Linked DNA regions of Homo sapiens: regions 1, 2 and 4 are each linked to region 3. The links are contacts of gene promoters, found by promoter capture Hi-C in blood cells and fetal thymus (Javierre and others, 2016). All regions are on one chromosome and are shown on one strand. Each heading gives the region's core, a stretch centred on a gene start or on the middle of the fragment in contact. The rest is flanking DNA. Distances are from core to core; before and after follow the strand shown. Region 1 holds the start of CENPE (centromere protein E). Region 2 holds the start of CYP2U1 (cytochrome P450 family 2 subfamily U member 1). Region 3 holds the start of INTS12 (integrator complex subunit 12). Region 4 overlaps RPL34 (ribosomal protein L34).

Evidence for each region. Contacts are between HindIII fragments. The CHiCAGO score rates a contact against its expected background, and 5 or more counts as called.
Region 1: a contact is called between the fragment with the promoter of CENPE here and the fragment with the promoter of INTS12 in region 3, in 1 of 17 cell types (naive CD8 T cells). The highest score is 5.4, in naive CD8 T cells.
Region 2: a contact is called between the fragment with the promoter of CYP2U1 here and the fragment with the promoter of INTS12 in region 3, in 1 of 17 cell types (total B cells). The highest score is 7.9, in total B cells.
Region 4: a fragment that was not itself captured here is called in contact with the fragment with the promoter of INTS12 in region 3 in 1 of 17 cell types (monocytes); the score reaches 5.8 in monocytes.

The regions. Positions count from the first base shown.
Region 1 is chr4:103,194,721-103,202,118 of GRCh38, forward strand. It overlaps CENPE (centromere protein E), which reads right to left and starts at 3,623. Exons shown (of 49, transcript NM_001813.3): 1 at 3,544-3,623; 2 at 2,039-2,130; 3 at 1,443-1,532; 4 at 1,200-1,318; 5 at 394-513. The coding sequence starts at 3,599. RefSeq lists an enhancer at 3,485-4,039. The HindIII fragment of the contact is 3,749 bases long and covers 2,669-6,417 here.
Region 2 is chr4:107,929,629-107,936,398 of GRCh38, forward strand. It overlaps CYP2U1 (cytochrome P450 family 2 subfamily U member 1), which reads left to right and starts at 1,921. Exons shown (of 5, transcript NM_183075.3): 1 at 1,921-2,505. The coding sequence starts at 2,016. It overlaps CYP2U1-AS1 (CYP2U1 and SGMS2 antisense RNA 1), which reads right to left and starts at 2,491. Exons shown (of 7, transcript NR_125929.1): 1 at 2,343-2,491. The region is part of intron 1 of LOC107986298 (a long non-coding RNA gene); the gene reads right to left. LOC124900751 (a long non-coding RNA gene) reads right to left here and starts at 1,957. Exons shown (of 2, transcript XR_007058221.1): 1 at 1,345-1,957; 2 at 1-275. It also overlaps LOC107986299. RefSeq lists enhancers at 1,291-1,798, 2,459-2,528, 2,589-2,658 and a silencer at 1,659-2,248. The HindIII fragment of the contact is 6,450 bases long and covers 642-6,770 here.
Region 3 is chr4:105,705,257-105,711,740 of GRCh38, forward strand. It overlaps INTS12 (integrator complex subunit 12), which reads right to left and starts at 3,433. Exons shown (of 8, transcript NM_020395.4): 1 at 3,382-3,433. GSTCD (glutathione S-transferase C-terminal domain containing) reads left to right here and starts at 3,528. Exons shown (of 12, transcript NM_001370181.1): 1 at 3,528-3,760. It overlaps LOC124900747 (a long non-coding RNA gene), which reads left to right and starts at 1,126. Exons shown (of 2, transcript XR_007058214.1): 1 at 1,126-1,167; 2 at 2,645-2,840. It overlaps LOC124900748 (a long non-coding RNA gene), which reads left to right. Exons shown (of 3, transcript XR_007058215.1): 2 at 58-134; 3 at 623-718. RefSeq lists an enhancer at 3,508-3,757. The HindIII fragment of the contact is 4,662 bases long and covers 1-4,539 here.
Region 4 is chr4:108,623,241-108,630,034 of GRCh38, forward strand. It overlaps RPL34 (ribosomal protein L34), which reads left to right. Exons shown (of 5, transcript NM_001319236.2): 5 at 1,888-2,130. The coding sequence ends at 1,972. Among named protein-coding and RNA genes, the nearest start is that of RPL34, 6.1 kb to the left of the region's middle. The HindIII fragment of the contact is 1,510 bases long and covers 3,524-5,033 here.

The DNA of each region.
Region 1 (7,398 bases), core at 2,373-4,872, 2.5 Mb before region 3:
AGAAGTCACAAGTTTGCTTTTCAAAAGAAGGTGCAAACTATTATAGAATTCATTTGTGAAAGTTAAAAGTGGCAAATGGAACCATAATTCTGTAGGAATGTAACAAATAATTCTATGAATACCCACAATTTATTTCACATACCAAAGCACAACAAATTCTAACCTGATACTTCCAACTTGCTATTTTTACACTTAAACCAAAATATTAGAGCTGTCAGTATTTTAAAACTATTCATATTGTTTAAAAGATGAATATAAATACTTCAAAAAAACCCTCACATACTATAGAAATAGGAGACACTTTAAAAACTATAGAAATTAAAGGTAAACATTCAAGAACAATAATCTCAATAAGTCAGTCAATTTTAAAGCTCCCTTAAGTCTGCTACTCACATTGACATCTTCTCGAATAATTAAAGGTTTCATTTTTTGAGTGCCACAGAGTAAATCTGTAATGGTTTCATTGTATATTTCCATGTAAGATACACGTAAGAGAAATTCCCTATCAGGAAACTAGAAGAAAAAAAATTATATAAAAACACCAGGAAGCATCCAATTGTGAAAACCTAATGCTAAATGCTCATGTGCTTAAAGAGGTAAAATGTATGTAAAACAAACTAAGAAACCCCTTGGTTCTACTGTTGACAAAATAATGAACACAAAAATATAAAAGCATCGTTACAGAAATAATGAAAAGTGAAGTACCATAAAGCTGGGAGAACACCAACTCTAGGCTCAAACTCTAGGCTCAAAATAAAACCCTCTCAAAAGATGTTCTTATTTTAATAAAAATGCTAATTTGAAACCAACTAACTCGGTTGCCTATTCTGGCTTTCTGCTTCCCTTCTTTTTTTACCTACATCCACTTTCTACTGTTCCTTTATAATCACTGATAGTTAAATGGTTAGGTGGAGCTAACCATTCTGATAACATTTTCTTGTTCCTTAATGCCTACTTTTTGTTGAGAGTATTATTGTTGCAGAATTCAAGAGAAAGAATAAAAGAACTTTAAGCTTTATAAAGTAAGTTGTGGAGATAAAAGTGAATCTATGCTATGCCTTTCTTCTTTCCCCATGGATAATCAAACAATAACTGTAAATCTACTTCCTTTCATCTTTACAAGAGAAATACACTAAGACTGGTACCCAGTTTTTACTAGTTTTACCTGTACGTACTAGAAATCCAGTTAAGTTACTTACCTTCTTAATTTTTTGGAAAATGTCATGAATTGCCCTGGGTATAACTCCCAAATGATCTTCTGAACCCATCATGGTATATGTTTTTCCTGAAGCAGTCTGTCCATAGGCAAATATAGTACCTGCAAAAAACAAAACACACATACGCAAAGATTAAAAACAAACCTATAATGGGTAAAACTATGCATGCTTGTTGCACAGACGCCCAAGACTAAAATGTTTCTGCAGCATTGAGTGAATACAAACCATTGTAGCCTTGTATGGCAGAATCGATGATTGGTGCTGCTATTTCTTCATACACATTTTTGGTAGTTTCATTACCATGAAAGACACGATCTAAACAACAACAACAACAACAACAACACAGAAGTTAAATCAAATGAGTCCACTGTGTTTTCATTCCAAATTAGTAATTATTCCCAAAAGTAAAACTGTCAGAATGTAGGATGATCAACTATTTAAGACACAGTATTTTTTTCAACTTTTTGGTTCTCTGAAAATACCCTTCCCTAAGGTAAAATGAGTTCATTTTCACACACAAAAAATACACTACAAGTCAACTTTTCTATGTTCTTTCAAGAGGCAATAAGGTATAGTGTTTGCACATGGGGGTCTGGAATCTACCTAGATGCAAATTAGATAACTGTGATTATAACTGTTTTAAATGCCAATTGGTTACCTTACTTAAATACATGATGGATAAACAATTTTGTTTCCAGTGAAGCAGTTTATAGAAGGCTTAGTCTAATCTTTAGTGACAAATCTAATATTATTGATAAGCCTTTTGTACTTTTAATAGCAAAAGGATAACAAGGTAACTTTTGATGCTATTATAAGCTTACCAAAATTGAAGGATTTACTTCCATCAACTTGATAAATGACATTATTGTCAGTTTTCCAGTAAACTTGGGCAGTTTCTCCAAGTGATTCTTCTCTAAAAGAATAAAAACACCGCATTTTAACCAGTCATAAAAGTCATGTCATAGGAGGAATAATTGAAAAGATTTCACCTGCTAAAGAATATTTTGAAAGATAGTAACATAAGAGAATGACAGAAAGTCCATCTTTGAGGATTCAACTCTTAAATGGAGCTTCAGTGACCTTCTGCCGCCTCAAAAGTGTTTTCTTGTGAAGGCTTTCATTCTCACCCTCTCCCCCAGTACTGGTAAACAAAGGGATGGATTCAAAATGCAACTCTGATTATGTCTGTCTTGCTTAAAATTCTTAAAACCTTTTGGAAACTTATGAAATCCTCAGCAGGGCACGAGTCCTAGATCATGTCATTTCTCTCTTCCATTTTCCTCTGAATTCCTAGATACATCCTAAGCTCTACCTGAAGGTCTTCCCCAAATGACAGATGTAACCTCTCTGTGCCTGGAATACTCTGACTTCCCTTTCCATTAAGTAACATAGGGATTATTTCACTCATGAAAAGCGTCAAGACTTTTCTGACACCAGTTCACCCCACGGGAAGCTTTCGTCTCTGATGGGCTAATAACTCCTCTAGCAAACATTCTCTACCTGCCCATCATAACACTTGTCAAAAGGTATCCTAATGGTTTCTTTATGTAGCCGTTTAAGGCATTAGATAATGAGCTCCTCAAAAATAGGAAATTCCTGATCTTGGTATTTGCATTTATTAAACCCCGTGTTCAATAAAAATTTCTCACACACACAAAGTGTTAGCATTTCGGGTCGAGGGCCAGAAGCTAGTGAAGCAAACCGATTTCATTTATTCCTCTTCCTGCTTTTTCTCCCTAGCACTTATTACCTACATATCACCACTTAACATCCTACATTTTCAACTTTACTTTCTGTCTCGTCCCATTAGAATGGAAGAGCCACTGGGCAATGACGGGAGTGTCTGTGTTGTACAAAGTCACTAAAAAAAAATTGATAAATATTTGTAGAATGATCTTGAGTGACGATTGAATGTAATGTGACAAGACAGACTAGCCCTTGTCTTCAGAGGGTCTGGAGACAGCAGTTAGGTGTAAAATGACTAACTGTGATGAGGGCCAGGAAGGCACGGTCCCATACGACTTCTCTAGGCGGGGAATGGGGCAGGGAGGAGCAGATGCCGCAAGGCAGAGCAGCACAGAAGGGAAGGTCTGTATGTCAGCGAGACTGAGTTAAATTTAAGTGAATCTCGCAGCTGGAAAGTATCTTCTAGATCTCCGATCCTCCCCTGTCACTTTACAGACCCTGAAACGATGGCCAGCAGCCGAGTCACTAGACAGCAGAGCCGGGAAGCAGCGGCTCCTGGAAACATCGTAGGCCTCGCCCCTCCGGCTCAGGGCGGCGCCGCAGGCCCAGCGGGCACCGGGCCGTGGTGTGGCCCCCCTACCTGCTGTTCAGCGGCCGCACTCGCACGCAGACGGCCACGGCTCCTTCCTCCGCCATCCTATCAGGCTGAACTGGTCCCAGGAAAATGGCCAGGACCCTCCGCGGCCGGCACTTCAGGGCTCACAGGCCGCCCCGCCTTTAAATTTAAAATTTCCCAAACGCCGCATCTGATTGAGCCGTGGCCTCGTGACGTCATGGGCCATTCCACGTGCGGAGCAGCGCGGGGGACGCAAGGCGGGCGGCGTGACCACTGCTAAACAGGAGAGGGGATTTAAAGGGCCCAGCAGAGAGTCGGAGGAGAGGGCCGAAGGGAGGGGCTCCCAGGAGTGGGCAGAGAGTGGTGGTCCTGGAATACCAGAATACTATTATCTGCCAAAAGCTAGCGAACGTCATCCTCCACCCCATCCTTAAAAAGTTTGGAACCTGTAGACGAAACTAGGTAGAGATACATGTATTTTTCACTACCCAAACAGAATTGCCGTCTTTTAAAGAAACTGCACCAACAGTTTAAAATAAACTTTCAACAGCAAGAGTTGAAATTCGCTGTCCAGTCCAGAAACGTGACAAGCCTGTTGTGCGCCTTAGAAAATCTGAGTTTAGGCTTTTCTCCTGTTTCTCTCTCTCTGTAACTCGTTTCCATTAGCTGTGGCTTCCTCAGAGGTTGAATTAGGGAAAATAAATACCGAGGACTGAAAAACTCATTGAGTAATGGGTTGATACTTTTTTTTTCTTCTTTTTTTTGGAAACGGAGTCTCGCTCTGTCACCCCAGGCTGGAGTGCAGTGGTGCTTATCTCTGCTCATTGCAGCCTCCACCTCCTGCATTCAAGTGATTCTCCTGCCTCAGCCTCCCCAGTAGCTGGGATTACAAGGTGCCCGCCACCACGCCCAGGTAATTTTTGTATTTTTAGTAGAGACGGGGCTTCGCCATGTTGGCAAGGCTGGTCTCAAAGTCCTGACCTCAGGTGATCCACTTGCCTCGGTCTCCAAAAGTGCTGGGATTAAAGGCGTGAGCCACCGCTCCTGGCCTGGTTTGTTACTTTTATTAACTAAGAGGGAAAGCTATTCTAAATACAGTGATTTTTTCCCAAAAATAATGCTTATTTTCCCTTTCTTCTCTCTCTCTCTTTTTTTTTTTTTTTTTTTTTTAAATAAACATGAGTTCTTGCTTTGTCACCTAGGCTAGAGTGCAGTAGGCTGAACACAGCTCACTGCAGGCTCAACTCCTGGCCTCAGCCCAAGTGGGGTTCCCACCTTAACCTCCTGAGTAGCTTGGATTACAGGCACATCACAAGCCCAGATAATTTTTAAATTTTTTTGTAGAGACGGGGTGGTGGGGGGATTAGGGTAGGGAGTGGGGTCTCACAGTGTTGCCTAGGCAGGTCTTGAACTCCTAGGCTCAAGCAATCCTCCTTGCCTTGGCCTCCCAAAGTGCTGGGATTACAAGCATGAGCCATCGTGCCTGGCCTAGCTTTTTATGTGTACTTTAGAAAGCTATCCAAGATGTTTCATTTATTAAGAGAAATTCAAGGTGCACGGTTATGTACACAGAATATGTCTGGATATACATACATAATTTTTGGAAAGATACACAGAATATGCCTAATTTCCTTGCAGAGTGAGGACTGAGTTAGATGGTAGACTGAGTTAGATGAAAGTAGTTTCTTTCAATTTAAAGAAACTAGTTTATAGATAAGAACAGTAAAGAAAAATGAGTCTATTCATTCAAGATTTGTTTTGGTTAACTAGCTGTGAGGTAGTATAAACAACTCTTTTTTATTGCTAGACTGTAAAGATACTTGGTTGTATCTAGTAAGAAAATACAGAGTTAAGGAAGGTATATTTTAACTGTTGTTTTTGTTTTAATTGTGGGCAAATATGAGACAGCTGAAGGCAAGGAACCTATGAAGAAGAAGGGAGATGTGATTAATCAAAATTTCTAATGAGACAAGAGGAGATTGGTTCACGAGTAAAGAGAAGTCATCAGCCTTTCATAGTTGTGCTTATGATCGTTGCTATGACTGTCTTTTTTTATCATCACAGCAGGTGACATTTATTGAAGATTTACTATATGCCAGGCTCTCTATTATATGCTCTCTATCCAATTTTTTCATCTGACTTTCCAAATTGTTCATCAAGAAATATTCATTGAACAACTGTTATGTGCCAGATACGGTTCTAAGGTCAGGAAGCACAACAGTAAATAGAATAGACACAGTACCTGTTGTTGTAGAGTTGCTATTCTCTTAGAGGAGATGGGTAATACAGAAAAATCTCAGTCTCTCTCTCTCTCTCTCTACACACACACACACACACACACACACACACACACACACACACACATAATGTAATGATTAATAGGATCAGGAGACAGAGAGAGAGTGATAAGGTGGGTTAAGAGTGCTAGTTTCTTATGAAACACATTCTTGTGGGAAGCAGCAGACAATACATAACAAATATATAGTAAAATAATGTGTTGGGAGGAAGGTTTATTTTAGATGAGATGTTCAAGAAAGACCTGAGGAGGTGACCTTTGAAGTGAAACCTATGTGAGAAGAGTGAGCCAGACTTGGGAGGACAAGAGAAAGGGCGTACCAGACAGAGGAACAAGTAAGTCAAAGAAGCCAAGGCTTGATCGAGTTTGTCATCTGTCTGAGACACAAAGGGGAGGGCCCTGTGACTGAAGCATTTGTGGCAATGGAGAGAGGTAGGCAGGTCCAGGTCCAGGACCCATGGGGCCTTGTGGGCTGTGATAAAATGTTTGGATCTTATTCTCAAGGGTGAGGGGAAGCCTATGGAGGGTTTTAAGCAAGGGGGTAAAAAGGGATTCATTAATTCCTTCAAACAAGACACTCTTTATTTCACTATGAAAATAGAAGCTTCCAGAAAAGACTTTGCCCTAATTCCTGTCAATCTGGCTACTCACTATGTGCATTTGTGCTTGCATACTCGCCTTCCAGACTGTAACTTTATAAACATCTGTGTGTTTTCCACTCTGGAAACTCTCCATGTGTGCACTGGATACAGTCCTCTCCTTCTCACTCTCTGTCCTGCTTGTCATTTTCTCCTGCTCTAGAAAACCAGTCTTAACAGCAAACATATGCCTTAATTCCTCCCATATTGAGTGTCTAATATATATGGCAAACTTAAAATGTCTAATACCAAATTCATGCTCTTCCCCTCAAAATCTGCTCAATCAGCAGTTTTCTGCTTCTCAGTTGTTGGCAAGTCCATCCTTCCAGTTATCCAGGTGCAGACTCTGGAGCCATGCTGCTCAGCTTCTCACCTGAAAATTCTGTCAGGGCCACCTTGAGAAAATTTCAGACTATGAAAAGTTTGTCACAACTTACGCTTCAGCTACCTGGTCCGAAATATCATCATCTGGCACTGAGCTAATCTCAGTGTTTCCACCCTTGCCCACCCCCACTGCCAGTCTGTTCTCAACACAGCAATTTGAATGATTCTGTGAAAATGTGTCAGATCATGTCACTCCTCTCTCAAGACCCCCAGTGCCACACCTTCACCCCCACCCTCTGATTTCTCTCAGAACAAAACCCAACGTCTTTCAGTTGTCTCCCAAGCCTCACATGATCTTGCCCTTTGTTTGTGCTCTGGCCTTACCTCCTACCACTGTCCCTCCCCTTTGCTCTCCCCACTCCAGCCACACGGGCCATGGGCAGTTTCCTGAATCCCAGACAAACCCCCTCTTGAGACCTTTGCACTGGCTGCTGTGTCTGGATGGAAGGCTTTCACTCCAGATATACATGTTTCCCTCCTTCCCATTGATTCCAGTGTTTACTCAAATGTCACCCTCTCATAGCTCTCTCTCTATAAAACACCAACTCCATTGTATGTTAC
Region 2 (6,770 bases), core at 671-3,170, 2.2 Mb after region 3:
CTTCTGAGACCTCTCTCCTGACTTGTAGATGGCTGCCTTCTGACTGTGTCCTCACATCCTCTTTCCTCTCTGTGTCCTTATCTCCTCTTCAGACACCAGTCATATTGGTAAGAGCCCATCCACAGGACTCCATTTTAGCTTAATTACCTCTTTAAAGGCCCTTTCTCCAAATACAGTCTTATTCTGAGGCACTGGGGGTTAGGACTTCAACATATAGTGGTGAGGAGAGGCTGAATTCAGCCCAGATTTCCTATCTGCCCCGCACAGCTATTAACCTAGTGAAAATGAGAGATTTAGGAAAACACTACACGTGCAGTTACATCCTGTACAATATAAAAGGGTGGCTGTTGGAGTTGTTAAATTAGTCACAGCTTCAACTATTTTAAAATCATTTATGAATTTAAATTGCTTGTATGGGATGATGTATATAGTGGCTACTGTTTCAGAGAGCAAAGCCCTAGAATCAGATGACATCCAGAATGTCATGTTGAAGATCGTATCTGCAAACAAGTAGTTTAAATTTTTAAAAACTTCTCTTAATTCAAAAATTCAAAAAAAATGAGAAAAGTAATCTCACAAGTAGTGGTTAATTATAGAAGATGAGAGGTGTGGAGGTTTTTTTTTTTTGTTTGGGGTGCATAAGCTTAAAATAACATGAAAAGCATGTCAAAAAGAATATGAGAACAGAGTGGACTTGAAATTTAACATATCCTACTGGCATCACTTGTTTATAGAAAAATAAAATGGATCATGTATTTATTTGAGGACTCACTATGCTTTCTTTGATCACATTTTTATAGGTACAGCGTGGTGTTCAAACTTTTAATGTATGGAGAAAAATGAAACGGCTAGAAAAATGGCCCAGTACAGACAATTCTATGCTCAATCCAACTTGAACAGAAACTACAGGATTTGGCCTAAACAAGACTGAAAGGGAAGCCCTTATCAGGAAAGCCATTATCTGAGAAGATAAAATAAAGTAATACTTTGTTTTTAAAGTATTATACAATTCATATCTAATATTTCAACCTCAGCCTTTCAAGTGTTGTCTAACACCAATAATAATATTGCCACCCCTCCCTCAACCGGTTATCTTCTTTTCATATTTCTAGCTACTTAAATCCACCAAGCAAATTCTGGTTTCGCTATTTCTGGATTTAAGTACATTTTCTAATGCACCCAGGCCACACGCAGGAATGGACACAGCTTTCGCTCTCCGCATAAGTTTTCTAGCCCAGGGCAAGCTCTCAGAACGTGACTCCTCGTGCCTCGCTGCCCGCCCCTCGCTCCCCCCACTCCCGCCATCATCCCTTCCGCAGAGTTGGCTGCCAAGCCGACACCCACAGATTCTGCATTCCACGGCTTCCCAGCATCCTGCTGTCTCTGCGTGGAGGAAAGGGTGCTGCGAATCCCAGTTTAGATAAGGAACCCCGTCTTTTCACTACTACACCGAAGCATGCAGGAATAGGGCGTTGACCCCATTCTCCCAGCTCAGGGCACAGGTGCTAAGGCCGACCCATCTCACGGGCCTGTTCACCAGTTTCCCACACTCAGTACAGATCCTAACACGGTTTATGCACTTCATAACCATGCGTTTGTGTTTGTCAACTGACAAACGAGTGATAATGACAAACGAATGACACAAGGGAAACCAACAGCCAATCAGAGCGCAAGGTTGTGTTGCCAGCATCCCAGTTTCAGGGACAGTCACCGCCAAGCCCGACCCTGCAAAGGGTCGTAACCGGACTTCGGGGCAAACTTCAGGTCCCCCGCCTGCTAGCCCGCCAACCCCCTCCGCCAGGCAGCCGGCGCGCCTCCAGGTTCCGCCCAGGCGTCGCTGAGTGGCGGCGGCGGGGAGAATGCGCGCGGCGCAGCCAATCCGGGGGCGTTCCTACACCCCCTGCCCGCCCCCGACCTTCCAGAGCAGAGCAGGACACTGGCGCCGCGGGTCAGGCAGCTGCGTGCGCGTCTCCTCCAGGCAGCAAGGGGAACCCGAGGCCGCCGGCGCCCGGACCATGTCGTCTCCGGGGCCGTCGCAGCCGCCGGCCGAGGACCCGCCCTGGCCCGCGCGCCTCCTGCGTGCGCCTCTGGGGCTGCTGCGGCTGGACCCCAGCGGGGGCGCGCTGCTGCTATGCGGCCTCGTAGCGCTGCTGGGCTGGAGCTGGCTGCGGAGGCGCCGGGCGCGGGGCATCCCGCCCGGGCCCACGCCCTGGCCTCTGGTGGGCAACTTCGGTCACGTGCTGCTGCCTCCCTTCCTCCGGCGGCGGAGCTGGCTGAGCAGCAGGACCAGGGCCGCAGGGATTGATCCCTCGGTCATAGGCCCGCAGGTGCTCCTGGCTCACCTAGCCCGCGTGTACGGCAGCATCTTCAGCTTCTTTATCGGCCACTACCTGGTGGTGGTCCTCAGCGACTTCCACAGCGTGCGCGAGGCGCTGGTGCAGCAGGCCGAGGTCTTCAGCGACCGCCCGCGGGTGCCGCTCATCTCCATCGTGACCAAGGAGAAGGGTGAGCGGGAGGTCGTGGGCTGTGGGTACGCGGATGCCGCGGATGAGTCTCCAGGTGCGTGGGGGCTGCAGTTCCTGTGCCCCTTCCGGCCGCCCGCGCCCCCAGGCTGCCTCACACCTGCATCCTGAACTAACAGGTGATGGTGGTGGCGGCGCTTCTCCTTTCTGATGCCTTTAAGATCCCATCAAGTAGTGACGGACGCGTGACTTGCTCATACTCCAAGATCATAAGTAGAAAAGTCATCCGGAGATTGAGGGAGAGTAATAGGGATGGCGGAAGGACAAGGTGGCAAGCCAGGTTCCATCTTTCCAAAAGTAGCCTTCCCTTCCACCAGCTGTGACCTCGGAGAGAAACTTTGGCCCCCATGTTAGAAAGAGGGAAGGATATTCTTTTTACCTTGTGGGTTTCGAATGTAAGAATTTAAGAAGATAATTTCCAATAAGATAAAAAGTCCAGAAAACACAGAAGAAGCCTATTACCAAATCTCCGGCTTTGGTTCATAGCCTCTGATTCCTGCGTATGGGAGTCTAAATTGGACATTTTTGGGGGTTGGAAAACGTGTTATCTGCTGCAATAAAATGTCCAATCTAACCTGTCTCTACCGTCCCCCTTTGTCTTACTGGCTGGCTTAGGTCTCTGACTTCTTTTCTGAGTCACTCCTACGCATCAGTCAGGTGTTAAATGCCTTTTCCTTGGGGAAGCCTTTTCTCACAGCCTCTGCAAGTAGGGTAGCCTCCCTTGTTAGAACCAGGTCCCTTGCCCAAGCACTTTTCCTTCACTACACTTTTCAAAACTGACGCTACATAACTTTATGACCTTGGGCCTGGATGTCAGTCTTCACCACTGTTCTGACATCTAGGAGGACAGAGTCATTGCTGTCTGAAACATAGTAGGAGTTCAAGTATCTATTAAATGAATGCTATTTCCTGCCCCTATAACATGGCAAAGAAAGATCTAGGCTTTTCAGAATCTGATAAAGCCAGAGTTTTGCATCAGGATTTTAAACGGAAAAGACAAATATTGTATGATCCACTTATATGAGGTGCCTCCTAGCGTAGTGAAATTCATAGGGACAGAAAGTCTCAGTTTTGCAAGATGAAAAAAGTTCTATGGATGGATGGTAGCAATGGTTGCACAACAGTGTGACAGTACCTAATGCCATTAAGGTGTGCACTTAAAAATGGTTAAGATGGTAAATTTTATATGTATTTCACCACAATTTTTAAAAAAGAAAAGAAAAGCAGGTAGGTTTTCTCCAGGCACCCATGAGCTCAGAAGAGAATTTTAGGTAGAAGCAGTATTACGAAGGCATGTAGTGGATGAGGTGTGAACTGTGACATTTGTTTTTCAGTGGGGCATTTAAAGTATTATGATCTTTATCCCTACTCATTTAAAATCCTTAGATAATGTCTTAGTGTTCATCCATGTTGTGGCATATGTGAAAATTTTCTTTTGAAGACTAATATTCCATCATATGTACAATCATCCCTCCTTATCTGTAGGGGATTCCTTCCAGGACCTCCTGCGAATAACAAAACCCTAGGATGCTCAAGTCCCTGATATAAAATGGTGTAGTATTTGCATATAGCCTATGCATATCCTCTTGGATACTTTAAATCATCTCTAGATTATTTATAATACCTACTACAATGTAAATGCTTTGTAAATAGTTGTTATACAGTATTGTTTAAGGAATGACAAGAAAAAAAGTCTACACATTCAGTACAGATGTGTTTTTTTGATCTGCGGTTGGTGGAACCAACAGATGTGGAACCCATAAATGTGGAGGGTCGACTGTATATACCACATTTTGTTTACCCATTCATCCATTGATAGACACTTGTGCCTCCAACTTTGGGCTATTGTGAATAATGCTGCTATAAATAGAAGGGGGCAAATATCTGAGTCCCTAGGAGTTACTTGATCATGTGGTAATTCTAGGTTTAATTTTTTGAAGAACCATCATACTATTTTACAGTGAGTGCACCAGTTTACATTCCCACAGGGGTCCCAATTTCTCCACGTCCTCACCAACACTTCTTTTTTTTTTTTTTTTCACACTTGCTTTTAAGATTGGGCTTAAATGTTACCTCTTTGAGAATGTGTACCCTGAGATGCTTCCCTACCCTGCAGAAGGAGATGAACTTCTATGATACCATTGTTTCATTTTAAGACCTTCCCAGTCCCTTCTAATCAATCCATAAGTCTTACTGACTCCTACAGCAGATATGTGTGCTACATCCATCTACTTTTCTCCATCTCTACTGTCAGCATCCTCATCCAAGCTACCATCATTTATTTATTTTTCTTTTTTTTCTAAAGCTACCATCATTTCTAAGCTGATACTTTAGAAGCCTCTTAACCGACCTGCTTGCTTCCGCTCCAGATTTTCATCCACAGAGCAGCCAAAAGTATCTCTTACATAAACCATGAATCAAATCTTGTAGCTCTCTGGCTGAAACCAATTGCCTCTGCACTCCTTACTTGACCTACTATGGCCTGAAGGATCTGGCTGCTGCCTTTCTCTTTTTTAGCTCTGCCTTCACTTGTACATTTCAACCTGACCTTCCTACTCTAGACACACTAAGCTGATTTCTGCCATGCCTGGGCCTGCCTCAAGGTACGATGTTTGTCTTCTTTGGGCCTGGAATAACTTCTTACTTGACTGATTGCTTGTCATCCCTCAGGCCTCTCAGGCCAATTGTTACCTTTCAGTGCTATTTTGGTCAATGCCCAGTACCACCTCTTATTTTATCTCATTCATATTTTTCTCAGTAAACACTGGCAAGTATTTAGCCTATGACCACTCCCACCTCTCAACGGAATGTGAGTTTCTTTAGGGCAGAGATTTTGTTCTTTTGTTAACCACTGTATCCCTACTTCTTGGCACAGAATAGAGAACCAAAAGATGAATGAATTCGTGCATACAAGCATCTATTGATGTATGTATCACATTTTATTGTAATTTGTTTTGTGTGTCTGTCTCTTCCTCTGGATTTCTTAAGGTAGGAATTAGGTTTTCTTCTTTGAGATCTCAACAGTGTAGTTTCCAATTCTTAACAAAACAGTTTATCAGAGTGCTTCTTGGTGGCTACTGTTTGGTTGAGAATCTATAACAAGGTCATTTCTAAGCATTAGTTGGATGACTGCTTACTATTAAATCTCTATTTAGAAAAGGGCTGGGAGCCTGGAGGCAATTTGGTGCTTCAGTAGTATCTCAACTAAAGTATTTATTCCCCCAAGAGACAGGATTTTCTTAGGCAATGCTGCTCTGGTATGTTTTGGGTGAATGTGCTGTAAAAGAATTAATGAGAGAAATTTCAGTGGCTAGAGAAGGTGTTGACAAGATAATGCAAGGCAAGAACCATATGGCATGAAGTAAATGCTTGTGGAGTTAACATGGAATAAAGAACAGATCATCTGAATAAGAAAGTGTGGCTAGCAGAGGATTTTTTTAATAGAACTTTTTCAAGAGTGAAGAATAAAAAGGGAGGATGTGAATTTATTTCAAGATGATCATCAAAGGATGAAGGAACAGATGAGGTGTGAGTGGACTTCCCAGATCAAGAAATGGACAGCATTATCAGCCTGAAGAAAAGAGGCCACTGTGACTACAGTCAAGATGCTCAGCTCAGCAAGACTTGAGGACAGCTCAAACCATCTTTGGCTACTGTGCCCAGTAGCAAAGGAGTAAATGTGATACTGTCCAGAAACAAGATGTGTAGGCCATAAGAGAAAAGAAATTATGTTAGGAATTAGAGGCCAATAACATTATTGAATATTTATTATTTTTTGAAAGAACTTTGCTGCTGAAGTTGGTGAGAATAGCAGAGAAGGGTATGTTTCATAACGCAAAGAGAGGCTAGAAATAGTTGACTTAATACATTTGCTGAAAAGTTCCAGAATGTAGGAATTTTATTTTTTATGTTTAAATTTTTCAAAATTTCATGATTAGACAAGGTGGTCTTCTTCTTAAGCCCATAAAAACTACAGTAAACTAGATAGGCCATAAAGATGCTGTGTCCATCATTCTGATTGATTCTTTTCCTAAGCACAAAAAGAAAAGAAAATTACAAAATCAGAGCTAAGGCTACCAAAGGAGCGTTTCACTCTTAAGTGTGCTGATATGGTTTGAAGGTGTCCCCAAATGTTTATGTATTAGAAACTTAATCCCTAATGCAACAGTGTCAAGAGATGGGAACTTAAAAGATGACTAGGTCATGAGGGCTCTGCCTTCATCAATGGATTAGTGCTGTTATCACCAG
Region 3 (6,484 bases), core at 2,183-4,682:
GTGTGATCTACGTTGTGTGCTCCTCATGAGAATCTAATGCCTGATGATCTGTCACAGTATACCCCATCATCCCCAGATGAAACCGTCTAGCTGCAGGAAAGCAAGCTCAAGGTTCCCACTGATTCTACATTATGGTGAGTTGTCCAATTATTTTATTATATATTACCATGTAGTAATAAGAGAAATAAAGTGCACAATAAATGTAATGCACTTGAATCATCCTGAAACCATGTCTTCAATGAAACTGGTCCCTGGTGCCAAAAAGGTTGTGGACCATTGCTCTACATGATTAATAATACATATAAAGCAGTTACAACAGTACCTGACACATAGTTGACACTCATTAAATGTTACCTAGTATCTTAGGCCATTCTCACTCTCTCTGTTATAGCTATCTGACTTATTTCAAGTCCTCCAATATACTCTTTCTTACCTTAGCACTTCAGTAGAAAGTGTGCCACCCCCACCTCCATCTTAAGTCACCTCTCAAGTTTCAGTTTTTCCTGCACATTCCCTCAACAAAACTAGAAGTTTCACTGTTACATAGCCCAAAAACATTCTGTACTTATTTGTAATATTAATCACACTGTTAATTATGTAAATAATCTTTCTTTCTCATTAGAATGTAAGTTCCATGAAGGCAGGCAGTGGATTGGTCTTGCCTACTGTTGTAACCCCTGTCTGGCAGAGTTCCTGGAAAACAGCAAATAACTGTAAATGTTGGCCAAGTAAATACTTGTTATCTACTTCCAATTTCATAAAACTTTCTCTTCCCTTGAGTTCTGTTATACTCAACTTTTCTGTTTTTCCTCTTCTATCTCTGACTACTCTTTCTTTGGCTTATCTTCTTTGTTGCTTTTGGTATTGTCCAAGTATTTGTCCTTGGCTATCTTCTTAGTTCTGCTAGCAGTTTCTTCTTGGTAATCTTATACACATCAGGTTTTCAACTATCATCTCTGGGTAGATGATTTAATATGTTTTACCCCAACTTCAATCTCTTTTTTTTTTTTTTTTTTTTTGAGACATGGTCTTGCTCTGTCACCCAGGTTGGAGTGCACTGAGATCATGGCTCACTGCAGCCTCGAACTCCTGGGCTCAAGTGATCCTCCTGCCTCAGCCTCCCAAGCAGCTAGGACTACAGGCATGCACCACCGTAACCATGCCCAGGTAATTTTGTTGTTTTTTAAGTAGAGCCAGGGTCTTGCTATGTTGCTCTTATCTGGTCTCAAACAATCCTCCTGTTGTGGCTTCCCAAAGTGCTGGGATTACAAGTGCGAGCCAAATCTCTTAAATTTGAATCCCATGTTTCCAAATGCTTAGTGTATGTGTCTATGTGATTCCTTAATGGCATCTCAAATTCAGTTACAACTAAAATTGAGATTCTGATTATCTTCCCGAAAAGTTCCTTGTCCTGCTCTTACTTTCAATAAATGACACAACTTTCTTTTAGTCAGGTTTGAGACCAAAGTCTTTCCTTCACTGAGTCTTTCCCTACTCCTTATATTCAAATAATCAGAATTCCTGTGGATTCTGACGGCAATATTTTTCACACTTGTCCTACTTTTCACTTCCACTGCTACTACTGAAATTCAGGTTTTATTAGCTTACTTGAACTATGGCAATAACCTCGTTATTTTCCTTGACTTCAACATTGTTGCCATATGAATTTTCCTGAAACCCAGTTTTCTTCTTTTTCATTAAAATAAAAAAAAAAATTCTTGCTGAGAAGTTAGGGCTTTCTACCACCTTCGAAATAAAGACCAAATTTCTTGGCCTAGCATTTAAGAAGATTCAGTAACTGGCACAAAAATTATCATTCATCATCCCCAGATCTGCCTTATAGCTAGCTGACCCTGCCACTCTTATTTTTTTTGTCCAGGAAGCTCTTTACCTATTTTTATATATCTACATCCTATCAAGACCCTATTCAAATACTTCTCATGAAGATTTGACTGACAGCTGCTGTGCCCCTCTCCATTCCAAACCCTATTAATAGTCTCTCCATTCAAGGATATCTCATAGTGCTTTTTCATGGTATTGCAACTTTCTCCCTTGAAGCATTTTTTTTTTTTTTTGGCACAAGTGTTATGTCCCCTACAAAACTCTGAGTACTTTAAGGGCAGAGTCTATATTTATCTTTTTGCCTATCTCTTTGCCACTTTGCAAAGTACAACAAAATAATGGCTATAGAATTACTGGAATTAAGTGATCAAAGTATAGTGGTCTTATCTCTCCTTCTACACAATTGTAGCCATTTCCAAGGTCCCTTCAGCAAAAATCACAAAAGTAACTCACCCCTGCCCCCACAAAAAAAACTCCAAACATCAAAAAAGCAAAAGCAAAGCAATCACCTCTTTCACGACTGGGGACTTGTAGTACAATGTTCCTATCTGTAAAATTCTCACAATCTTTCGCCTGTCTTGCTTAATTCATTAATCCCACTGGTCTGTAAACTTGATGACAGCAGGAACTTGTTTTGTTCACTGTTATTTCCCTAGTGCTTGAAACTTAATAAGGGCTCAAAAATATTTATCGAATGAACGAACTAGGTTTTTTGCGTAAATGTCACCTTATAAGGCTTCTGTGATCTCTCCAGTCTAAATTGGGCATTCATATATAAATATAAGTATGTGCTTTCTCCTAGATCCATTTTTCACCCTACCTGGCAATCTCAAAAGAAGTCCAAAGTTGATCATATGCACGTGCCCCAGATGAAGGAAACAGAAACTGTTCACATAGAGTGCAGTATTATCGTTGCCATTTCATAATGGCTCTAAAAAACTTTGTTCTTCATGACTTCGCAAGCTCTTGCAACCCCTTCCAATAAACATTATTTTAAAGATGCTGCCTTTTTCATTCCTCCACTGAGTTCTTGGTTCTGGATAACACTGATACCTTAGGGACACCTGGAATCGCAGGAGAAAAGGCTCCGATTCCAAACCAATCAAGTGGCTGAAAGCTGACAGCAAACACTTAGAAAAGGAATGTCAATCCTTTGATCAAAGCATCACACATCGAAGTCCTAGAATGGGGGATGGTCCTTGACAGGGGAGCCAAAAGATGAGAGACAATGAGGGAGCTACGTAGAGAAGTCACTAAAACCCTCCGACAAAGTCCGAGGCAGGATTCCAAGTCCCTTGTCCCTAGACCTAGAAATATGCTCGGTCCGCATGTCCCGGCCCGCAACTCCCTCGGAGGAAGCACAGTCCTCACTGAAAGGGGAGAGCAGTCAGTCTAGGGCACGCAACCGCCCGTAAATTATGATTCCCCTTGAGGAGCGAGGAAACTAATACCCCACGTAGCTACTCTCCCACCTCGCTCCTGGCGCGGGGGTCTCGAGCCTCCAGGAGGCCAGGAGCAGAGTCGCTCAGCATAACTCACCGTTCCGCCCCGCCCTGCCGATCCGTCTGTTCCCGGTGGTCCCTTCGGAAACGGTTCCCGCACTGGCCGGCTCCGAAAGCAGGAAAACAAAGGTTCCCACAGTAGGGGCGGGGGAAACGTTTGGCAGTGCGACAGTAGGAAGTGACGTTACTTCCCTTTTTCCGGTCCGCCGGATTATGAATGACGGCCGGCGCGAGTATTTTCCACATAAGGTGGCTGTCGTTTTTCTCCTGGCGTCTGTGGAGGCGAGTGGTCTGCGGGCAGCAGCTCCCAGAGGCAGCCTTGGAATTCCAGCTCGGACTGGGCGGGAAGGCGCAGGCGGCCCAGGTCGCCGACACGCTCACGCACCCTCCCTGCCTGGCCGCGCCTCTGCGACCAGGTAAAGAGGGCGCTCGGGCCGCCGGCTTCTCAGCCTCCGCGACCCCCTAAGAACTGGTCTTTTCTTCGGGGGTCTGCAGGGCTGAGGATGCGGGGGAAGGGTGGGAAGGACAAGGGCGTGGTATCATCGTCCTGATTTTTCTCCCGCCCTGGGGCCGCCTCAAACTCCTTTTTGGCCACTCCTGCTGAAGGTGCGGGTTGAGGGCTCTGGGCTTCTCGGTAGTACGCGTTTCCCAGTTTCCCCCTAGCCAGTCCCTCATGTCTTCCTCTGCTGATGGAGAAATGGGGCAGCTTCCAGTTGGAGGCGTTGGTTGGGGTGGTTTGATATTTGCTGTTAAGTGTTACTTCAAGACCTCTTGGGTCACACTAACTTCTCTTCTCTCTTTGGCATTGAGTTTTCCATTCCAGCCCTTCCTGATTGCAGAAAGCAGTTCTATGTGAATACTACTTAACATTTACTCCAAAGGACTTGCTTCATTTGGGGCCATTTGCTTATGTTTTGTCATCACAGCAGTATCTCTTGGGTTTTTAACTTCTATAGAAAGTTTAATTTGCATGAAAGTTGCTTTGGTTTCAAAAACGTTTGCTAATACACGTACTTCCCATCCCAACTTTCTACCTGGTTTTGGGATGAGATGACTTGTTTTTTTCCCCTTTATTCTTAATGCCAGGATCCCATTCCTTGTCATAAATTCTTGAATATCAAGAAAATGCCAGCTTTAGTAATATATTGTGTGCTACATTATTGATAAAGAAGGTGGTGTATTTCTATTTTACCTAAGCTTATCTGTAAAAACAATGTTTACAGGAGAAAATGCAAAAGCTAGCAAGAACTAGTGATGTGATAATTTTAAACATGTAAACATAGTCATTTAAATCCATGATAATAAACTGTTATAACACAACTAAGTGATTCGCTGTCATATTTAATAAACATTAAGCTATGCGGGTTTTTTTTTCTTTTTTTTTAACTGCCTGATGGGGAGCATACACCACTGAGAGGATTGCTTTAAGCACACTCATTACTAAAAATTGTGTTTGTATTACACCTGAAAGTATCGTTTTGTGAGGTCTCACTTCAAAAATAAGACTGAAAAGGTCAATGAGATTTGAGAATCATCATTTCTTTTTATTTTATATACTTTGCACTTCTACGTGTTTTTGCTTTAATTTAAACACAGCTCAAACTTGAGCTTCTGTAGTAGTGGGCCCATCAATTTTTTTTTTTTTTTTTTTTTTTGAGCTGGAGTCCTGCTCTGTCGCCTGGGGATGGATTGCAATGGCAACATCCGCCTCCCGGGCTCAAGCAATTCTCCTGCCTCAGCCTCCCGAGTAGTTGGGATTACAGGCGCCCACAATCACACTCGGCTCCTTTTTTTTTTTTTTTTTTTTCAGTCGAGGAGGGGTTTCACCATGTTGGCCAGGCTGGTCTCAAACTCCTGACCTCAAATGATCCGCCCGCCTCGGCTTCCCAAAGTGGTGGGATTACAGGCGTGAGCCACCGCGCCCGGCCTGTTTTTGTTTTTTTAAACTTGTTTTACTTGTAGCTTTTGTTTCATCATCTGTGATTTTTAAATAAAAATAAATACTGAGTATCCAATTAGCTTTTCTAACAAAGAATAAATACTTGGAATGCAGATATTGAAACCATTTAGATTAAAACAAGCACAGGTATTGTTTGCTGTGAAAATTCAGTAATTTTATTTCATACTTGGTAACATGTTAGCCATTTGCGCTGTCGATCACTGTTAATTATGAGGTCGGGTTTAGCTGAAGGCATTATGACTCCATGGCAACAGATGATTCCCTGATTCTCCAGAGAGATTACACACTTCGTTTGTGGCTAAGGTTACTGTAAGCTTTTCACTTAAAAACTTTTCCTACTTCTTTACCAGATAAGAAAACAGCTAATTTTAATCACTGGCTTTTGTTCTCTAGGACTTAACTGCATCCCATATTACGTATTTAATGAGCTTGAAAAAATCTCAGTGTTTTTCTTATCGTTTTTGACCCTAAATATTTAAGGTAATTGGCTGCTATCTATCTGTTGAGGGGCATGTTTTTTTGTTTTGTTTTGTTTTGGTTAAATCTATATTATTGTAATAAAATAGGGTACAATTTTCAGCCAAATACTGTTGTTTTATGAAAAGCATAAAACACAAGATAAGTTATAAAATTCAAAATGTTGAACATATGATGTAGGAGAGAATTTAGGCAGGTTTAAATTTTAATCTTTAAGAAAAGTAAGTGTTTGTGATTTTTCATACTTATAAACTGTGTTGAACTTCTTATTTTGTACAATAGGTTGATATGCACATGGATTAAGGGTTTCACGTTTATATTTTACCATTTCATGATTCCCTGGCTTTCAGCCTCAGTAACAAATATGTTTTTTTTCAGTATTTGGTTGGGAAAAACTTTTCAATCAATATAAATCCTTTACCTTTCATGGAAAGAAGCTTGAAAATATAAACCATAATTTGGGTTTTGCCCATCAAGGTTTGCATATTTTAATAGTGCCAGTTGATAAGGAATTTGGTTATAAATTATAAAGAAATAATAGTAGCTAGTATTTATTTAAGGACTTAATATGTGACAAGCTTTTTTCTGTATGGCACACTACATGGTAGGTACAGTTATTATTGTCTCCATTTTATTATATAAGTGAGGAAACAGATATGCAGAAAAGTTTTTTATAGCTACTAAGAATCAGAACCAGTATATT
Region 4 (6,794 bases), core at 3,029-5,528, 2.9 Mb after region 3:
AGAATTGCTGGAAGCTGGGAGGCAGAGGTTGTGGTGAGCTGCGATTGCGCTATTGCACTCCAGCCTGGGCAACAGGAGCGAAACTCTGTCTCAAAAAAAAAAGGGAAAGAAAGAAAAGCCAGATTATGAGGGGCTTTACAGAATAAAAGGTAGATTAGCTTAATTCTTTTATTGATTGATTGATTTTGAGATGGAGTCTCGCTCTGTAGCCCAGGCTGGAGTCCAGTGGTGTGATCTTGGCTCACTGTAACCTCCGCCTCCCGGGTTCAAGCAATTCTTCTGCCTCAGCCTCCTGAATAGCTGGGACTGCAGGCACATGCCACCACACTTGACTGATTTTTTGTATTTTTAGTAGAGACAAGGTTTCACTGTGTTAGCCAGGATGGTCTCTATCTGACCTCATGATCTGTCAGCCTCGACCTCCCAAAGTGCTGGGAATACAGGTATAAGCCACCGCACCCAGTCCTAGCTGAGTTTTTAAACCAAACCTTTTGACACCAAATGCAGGCTTCATTCTGCATTTTAGGAGGTAGATTGTAAGAGAACAGTAGGAGATACTACATTAATACAAATAGGGGATAAATATAGCTTCTGTGATACACAGCAAAGCTTAACTATGATTGAAGTTTAAAGGAGAAATTACTTGCAAATAACTAGGAATGGCATTTGAGTTGGAACCTAAATGATGGGCAAATTTTGGACAAAAGGCAGAAAGGGCATTCCAGGCAAGGAAAGTACGGACTGATCTGGCACATTGTGGGTGAGAAATGGAAGTGTACATTGGAGATAAGTCATGAGTTTTAAGCTGAAGAAGTTTGGCTTTTTTTCCCCCAGTCTTTGGTTCTAAAACTTTGCTGAACACAAAATCAGATGGGCACATTTATTAAAAATACAAATTCTCGGGCCTTATCTCCTGAAGATTTGAATTTAGGTTTACAGGATAGCCTAGAAATTAGCATTGTTAGCTGTGATGCTGAGCAGGTCTGCATGTGGTCTGTGCTTTGAGTAAGTTAAGGGAATTTTTAAGTGATTCAGTTGTATGTGTCTCTGATAGGATCACATGGGGGAGATTTGAAGAAATTAGAAAACCCAGAGTTTTGAGGGTAGGGTTTGATAACCAGGTTTACCAATGGGAAATGGGGTGGGGGAAGGTTTAAGTTGAAGCAAGAGGAGTGCTTTAAACTCTGGTGGTAACTCTGATTTAACAAATGCTAGGAAGACCTGCTTTTTGCTAGGTCCTGTGCAACACTGTAATGATAGTGATCCATAAAATGCACTCCTAGATGGAGGCTCAAAGTCTAGAAAATCTTTCCAAATTTAATCCTCATAAACTCCCTGTTAAATACGTGTGAAACTATTTTGTGCCTTAATATAGAGAAGGTAACTTGTCCAGTGTGCAGCTAGTGTGTGGTGGAGTTGGCCGTAAACAGGTTCTAAAATCCTTGCTCTTGGTGAGGTGTCTCTTGCTAATATCCCTTTACCTTTTAATTTTAGTTCTTAACACATAGCCCCTTATGTGTTGTTTTTTACTGGGAATTTTCAAAAATATGGTTAAAATATTCTAAGACATTTTGCAAATCAAGAAATACCACTATTCCTGGATCCTAACAATAAATTAGAGCTCTCATAAGTGGTCTCCTGTGGGGATGACTTCATAGTTTATCTTGACTCAGAAGGAGGACAGATAACTACTGGCATGAAATTGAAGGATTATCCTGCTTTAAATGAATTTCACCTTTTAAGTTTTACTCTGTATTTGTGTATCCTGTAGTTTCCTGGGTTCCCTGATTGCTTTGCTTGGTTCTTTACCATGTTTGCCTTCTCTGTGCTAAATAAAAAATGAAGTTCATTTTAAAGAAATGATTAATTTGGTATTTTCCTTTCTAGGATCAAGCGTGCTTTCCTTATCGAGGAGCAGAAAATCGTTGTGAAAGTGTTGAAGGCACAAGCACAGAGTCAGAAAGCTAAATAAAAAAATGAAACTTTTTTGAGTAATAAAAATGAAAAGACGCTGTATGTATGACTTTTTTTTTTTCTGTTGTAATGTGTTAGTATACAGATTTTGTTTCTGTATGGTATTTGGGGACCCTATAGTTTTTAGCAGATTACTTTTTCTTGTTTTGTTTGTTGTTTGTTTGTTTTTGGTTTGGTTTGGTTTTTTTGAGACGGAGTTTCTCTCTTGTTGCCTAGGCTGGAGTACAATGGCAGGATCTCGGCTCACCGCACCCTCTGCCTTCCAGGTTCAAGTGATTCTCCTGCCTCAGCCTCCCAAGTAGCTGGGATTATAGGCATGTGCCACCATGCCTGGCTAATTTTGTATATTTTAGTAGAGACGAGGTTTCTCCATGTTGGTCAGGCTGGTCTCAAACTCCCGACCTCAGGTGATCTGCCCACCTCGGCCTCCCAAAGTGCTGGTGTTAAGGTGCGAGCCGCAGCACCCAGCCAGTGGGTTACTTTTTCTGAAGAAACAGTTGGTGGTCACTGATGGCCAGAATTTTTTTGGTGACAGCTCTACCGCTGCATTGGAGCATAATGTCCTTCTCTTTGTGGGCTGAGACTTCAGGGTGGTTTGGGAGGAATGGCCCTTCTATTTGAAACTTTAATATCCCTTTGATCCTTACTATGGTATCTCCTTTACGTCAGCAAGTTTCATAGGATAGAAACCTTGGTATTCTAGTTCCTTGGAATGGAACCTTTTTAAGATTGTTTTTAAACCCTCTGTTCTTTTAGGTCACTTCAGTTCAAAAATGGTATCTTGGAGAGCTCAGAACTCCTTATTTAACAAATGAGTGAGCTACTATATATAAAACCTTGGGTCAAGGGTATAGTTTCTGATCTACATTGGATTTATTATCCAGGCCAGAATGTTAAAATACAGACCTCATTTTTCTTGGGAACTATGTAGTGTTTCTGCCAGCTCAGACAAGGTTTCACTCCTGCTGCCCAGCCTGGAGTGCAATCTTGGCTTGCTGCAACCTCCACCTCCTGGACTCAAGTGATTCTCTGCCTCAGCCTCCCAAGTAGCTGGGACTACAGGTAGGCACCACCATGCCTGGCTCATTTTTGGTTTTTTGAGAAACAGTTTCACCATGTTCCTAGGCTGGTCTCAAAACTCCTGGGCTCAAGCAGTCTGCCTGCCTCAGCCTCCCAGCGTGCCAGGATTACAGGCATGAGCCATTCTTCTGCCCAACCTGTTGGCTGACAACCTTTTTTTTTTTTTTTTTTTTTGAAATGGAGCCTTGCTCTTGCCCAGGCTGGAGCGTACTGGCTCGATTTCGGCTCACTGCAACCTCCACCTCCTGGGTTCAAGCAATTCTGCCTCAGCCTCCTGAGGATTACAGGCGCCCACCACCACACCCGGCTAATTTTTGTATTTTTAGTAGAGATGGGGTTTTGCCATATTGGCCAGGTTCATCTTGAACTCTTGATCTCAAGTGATCCGCCCACCTTGGCCTCCCAAAGTGCTGAGATTACAGGCGTGAGCCCTTGCACCCGGCCAACACCATCTCTTAAAGCCATAACAAGCTTTATTCCAATCTGAGTAGAGAGCAGAGACCTTGAGCCATCATGGAATGCAGAAGCTGAAAGTACCTGGGGAGTTCAGTAAATTTTGACTATTTTCCTCAGTTGAGGAAAATTTACCTACTAACTGGCATGATGTAACTACTTAAGCAGAGGAGAGTTACCGCTTAGCTATACATAAGAACATGCTTTTCTGGCTGGACGCCGTGGTTCATGCCTGTAATCCCAGTACTTTGGGAGGCCAAGGCGGGCGGATCATGAGGTCAGGAGATCGAGACCATCCTGTCTAGCACGGTGAAACCCCGTCTGTACTAAAAATACAAAAAACTAGCTGGGCGTGGTGGTATGCGTCTGTAATCCCAGTTACTCGGGAGGCTGAGGCAAGAGGATTGCTTGAACCCGGGAGGCAGAGGTTGCAGTAAGCCAAGATCGCGCCACTGTACTCTCGCCTGTGCGACAGAGCGAGACTCGGTCTCCAAAAAAAAAACACCTTTTCTTAGGCCAGACCCAGTGGCTCACCCCTATAGTCCCAGTCTCAACACTTGGGATGCTGAGGCAGGAGGATCACTTGAGGACAGGAGTTGGAGACCACCCTGGGCAGCTTGGCAAGACCCTGCCTAAAAAATAATTAAAAAATAAGAATACCCCTTAAGGTAAAAGGCAAAAAAAATGGGATTTCATAACACCTTTACTGTACCCCACTGCCAGTTAACTTGTTCTTGGTATAAAAAATTTTTAATTAGTGTTTTGCAGAAGAGGAGTCACAGAACTAGTAAGTGGCAAAGCTGGCAGTTGAACTCCCTTTTAAGAATTTAACCGCCAGGCGCGGTGGCTCACGCCTGTAATCCCAGCACTTTGGGAGGCTGAGGCAGGTGGATCACCGGAGGTCAGGAGTTCGAGACCAGCCTGACCAGTATGGTGAAACCCCGTCTCTACTAAAAATAACAAAAATTAGCCAGAAGTGGTGGCATGCACCTGTAATCCCAGCTATCAGGAGAATGAGGCAGAAGAATCGCTTGAACCTGTGAGGCAGAGGTTGCACTGAGCCGAGATTGCACCACTGCACTCCAGCCTGAGTGACAGTGAGACTCCTCAAAAAAAAAAAAAAAATTTAATTTTAACCACAGTACACTTGATTGGCTGTGTGCCTGACTCCACCAAATTTGTTTTAGTCCTCCCAGCAACTCCAACAGCTTTATTCCCATTTTACTGATGAGAGAACAGACACAGGTTATAGAAAACCCAGAGCCATTTGTATTGTTGGTAGGATTTTTGCAGCTGTGTTAGTGAATAAGTGTAATGACCGGGCACCCTAATAAATGCTAGCATAATCAATGATAGCTGGGATCCCTGTTGTCAACATTCATAGTCTCAAACGATTGAGATACATTAGCTTTCTCCAAACACCTGCCAATCCCAAAGATTGTTAAGCAACCAGGATAATAGAATTAATTATCTTGTATAATGTTTAATCACAGTATTGAAAATATAAAACGGGGATAGAATTGAAAAGCTTGAATTCTAAGGCAGATTTACATCACTTTCTCATGATTCAGGCTTATATATACTGCACCAAGCAGTTCTGTGACTGTGTTTTATTGTATTTGATATAACCATCTAAAAATTGGCACTTTTAATAATATACTCAGACAATAATGTGGCTTAAAACTTAAACTAATTGGCTGCTCTGTAGGCCAGTCTAGTTTTTGAAAGGTTTGAGATGTAATTTCTGAAAAAATTGCTGTGGAAGAGAAAGCCTATTTGCCACCCCAACCTGAGTTCTTGCTGGTGGAAGGAGGCTCCTCCCTCTCCTTGCTGCTCCAAGTTAGGTAGAACAACATGACTGGACACAGGCTCTAGCTGGTGGGAACTAGCAAGTTTCAGCAAAATATGAAATGGGTGACCTTTGAGAAATGTAAGGAAGTTAAAGAATTGAGGTGTACATTCTTTTCCAAGAATTCTTGGTATGTTAAATGGTTTTACTTAACAAACAGCTTTGTAGACTATTTGGAAAGTTTGGAAAAATAGAATGATAAAAAATCTCAATTTCACTACTTACTATTATTATTATTATTTTGGAGACAGAGTCTCACTCTATCACCCAGGCTGGAGTGCAGTGACGCGATCTCAGCTTACTGCAACCTCCACCTCCTGGGTTTAAGCCATTCTGCCTCAGCCTCCCGAGTAGCTGGGATTACAGGCGCCTGCCACCACATCTGGCTAATTTTTGTATTTTTAGTAGAGACGGGTTCGCCATGTTGGCCAGGCTGGTCTCGAACTCCTGACCTCAGAATGTCCGCCCGCCTCGGCCTGCTAAAGTGTTGGGATGACAGGCTTGAGCCACCACGCTGGGCCACTACTCAGTCATTTTTAATAGTTGAATGTTTTTCCTCCCATCTTGTTTTCCATGAATAAAATAGACATTTTAAGTCAAAACTGGAAGCCCACTGCATATATAAACTTTTAACTCCTTTTTTTCTCCCACATAACCCCTGTGATATTTCTTTTCAAAGAATATTTTAGTAGCTGCCTGCAGTATGAAATTTACATGCTATAATTTAGACATTCCCTTTATTTTGAACATTTGGGCTATTTCCAGTTTTTCTCTATTTTAAAACATGAGCCTTCTTATATATCTGATTATTTCACTTATGCTGAATTGTTTTTTAATATTCACAAGTTGGTGTTGAAGTTCAGTATTTAGAAGACAAAGAGCATTGACGGGTGTGAACATAGTAACGACTCTGTCCAAGTGACCCAAATGGATTCTATAACTCTTCTGGGTTTTGATTTTTGTAAAAAACAAAATGAAGCTCTTATTGAATCCAGTTCTATGTGTGTGACAAAGTATTCTTGACAGGTTCCTAAAAAGACATGTGAATGTAGTCAGTGGTTTTCTTTTTAAAGTCTAATATTTCTCCTTCCGTTGAATTGCTTATAAATTCTGTTAGAAGGTTGAAAGGGTTCTTTTACCCTTAAAAATATAAAATCTCCAAATGTTTAAGTAAGCAAATCAAGTTTGTTTTAGCAACTTAATAACATCCTATAATCTTTACCCCAGTGATTAAGAGCTTGGGCTTCCAGAATTTTGATAGTCAGGGCTATGTCCAACTTTCACTGTAAACTATGCATCTTATCAAACCAACTAAAATCACATATAATCCTCACAGAGTAAGATTGTGAAGCAGTTCTGAATGTTATGATTTTTCCCTAAAGTATATTATTTATTGCCGGTAATAATTATTCTGCCATTATTAGGTCCAATAGAAAAA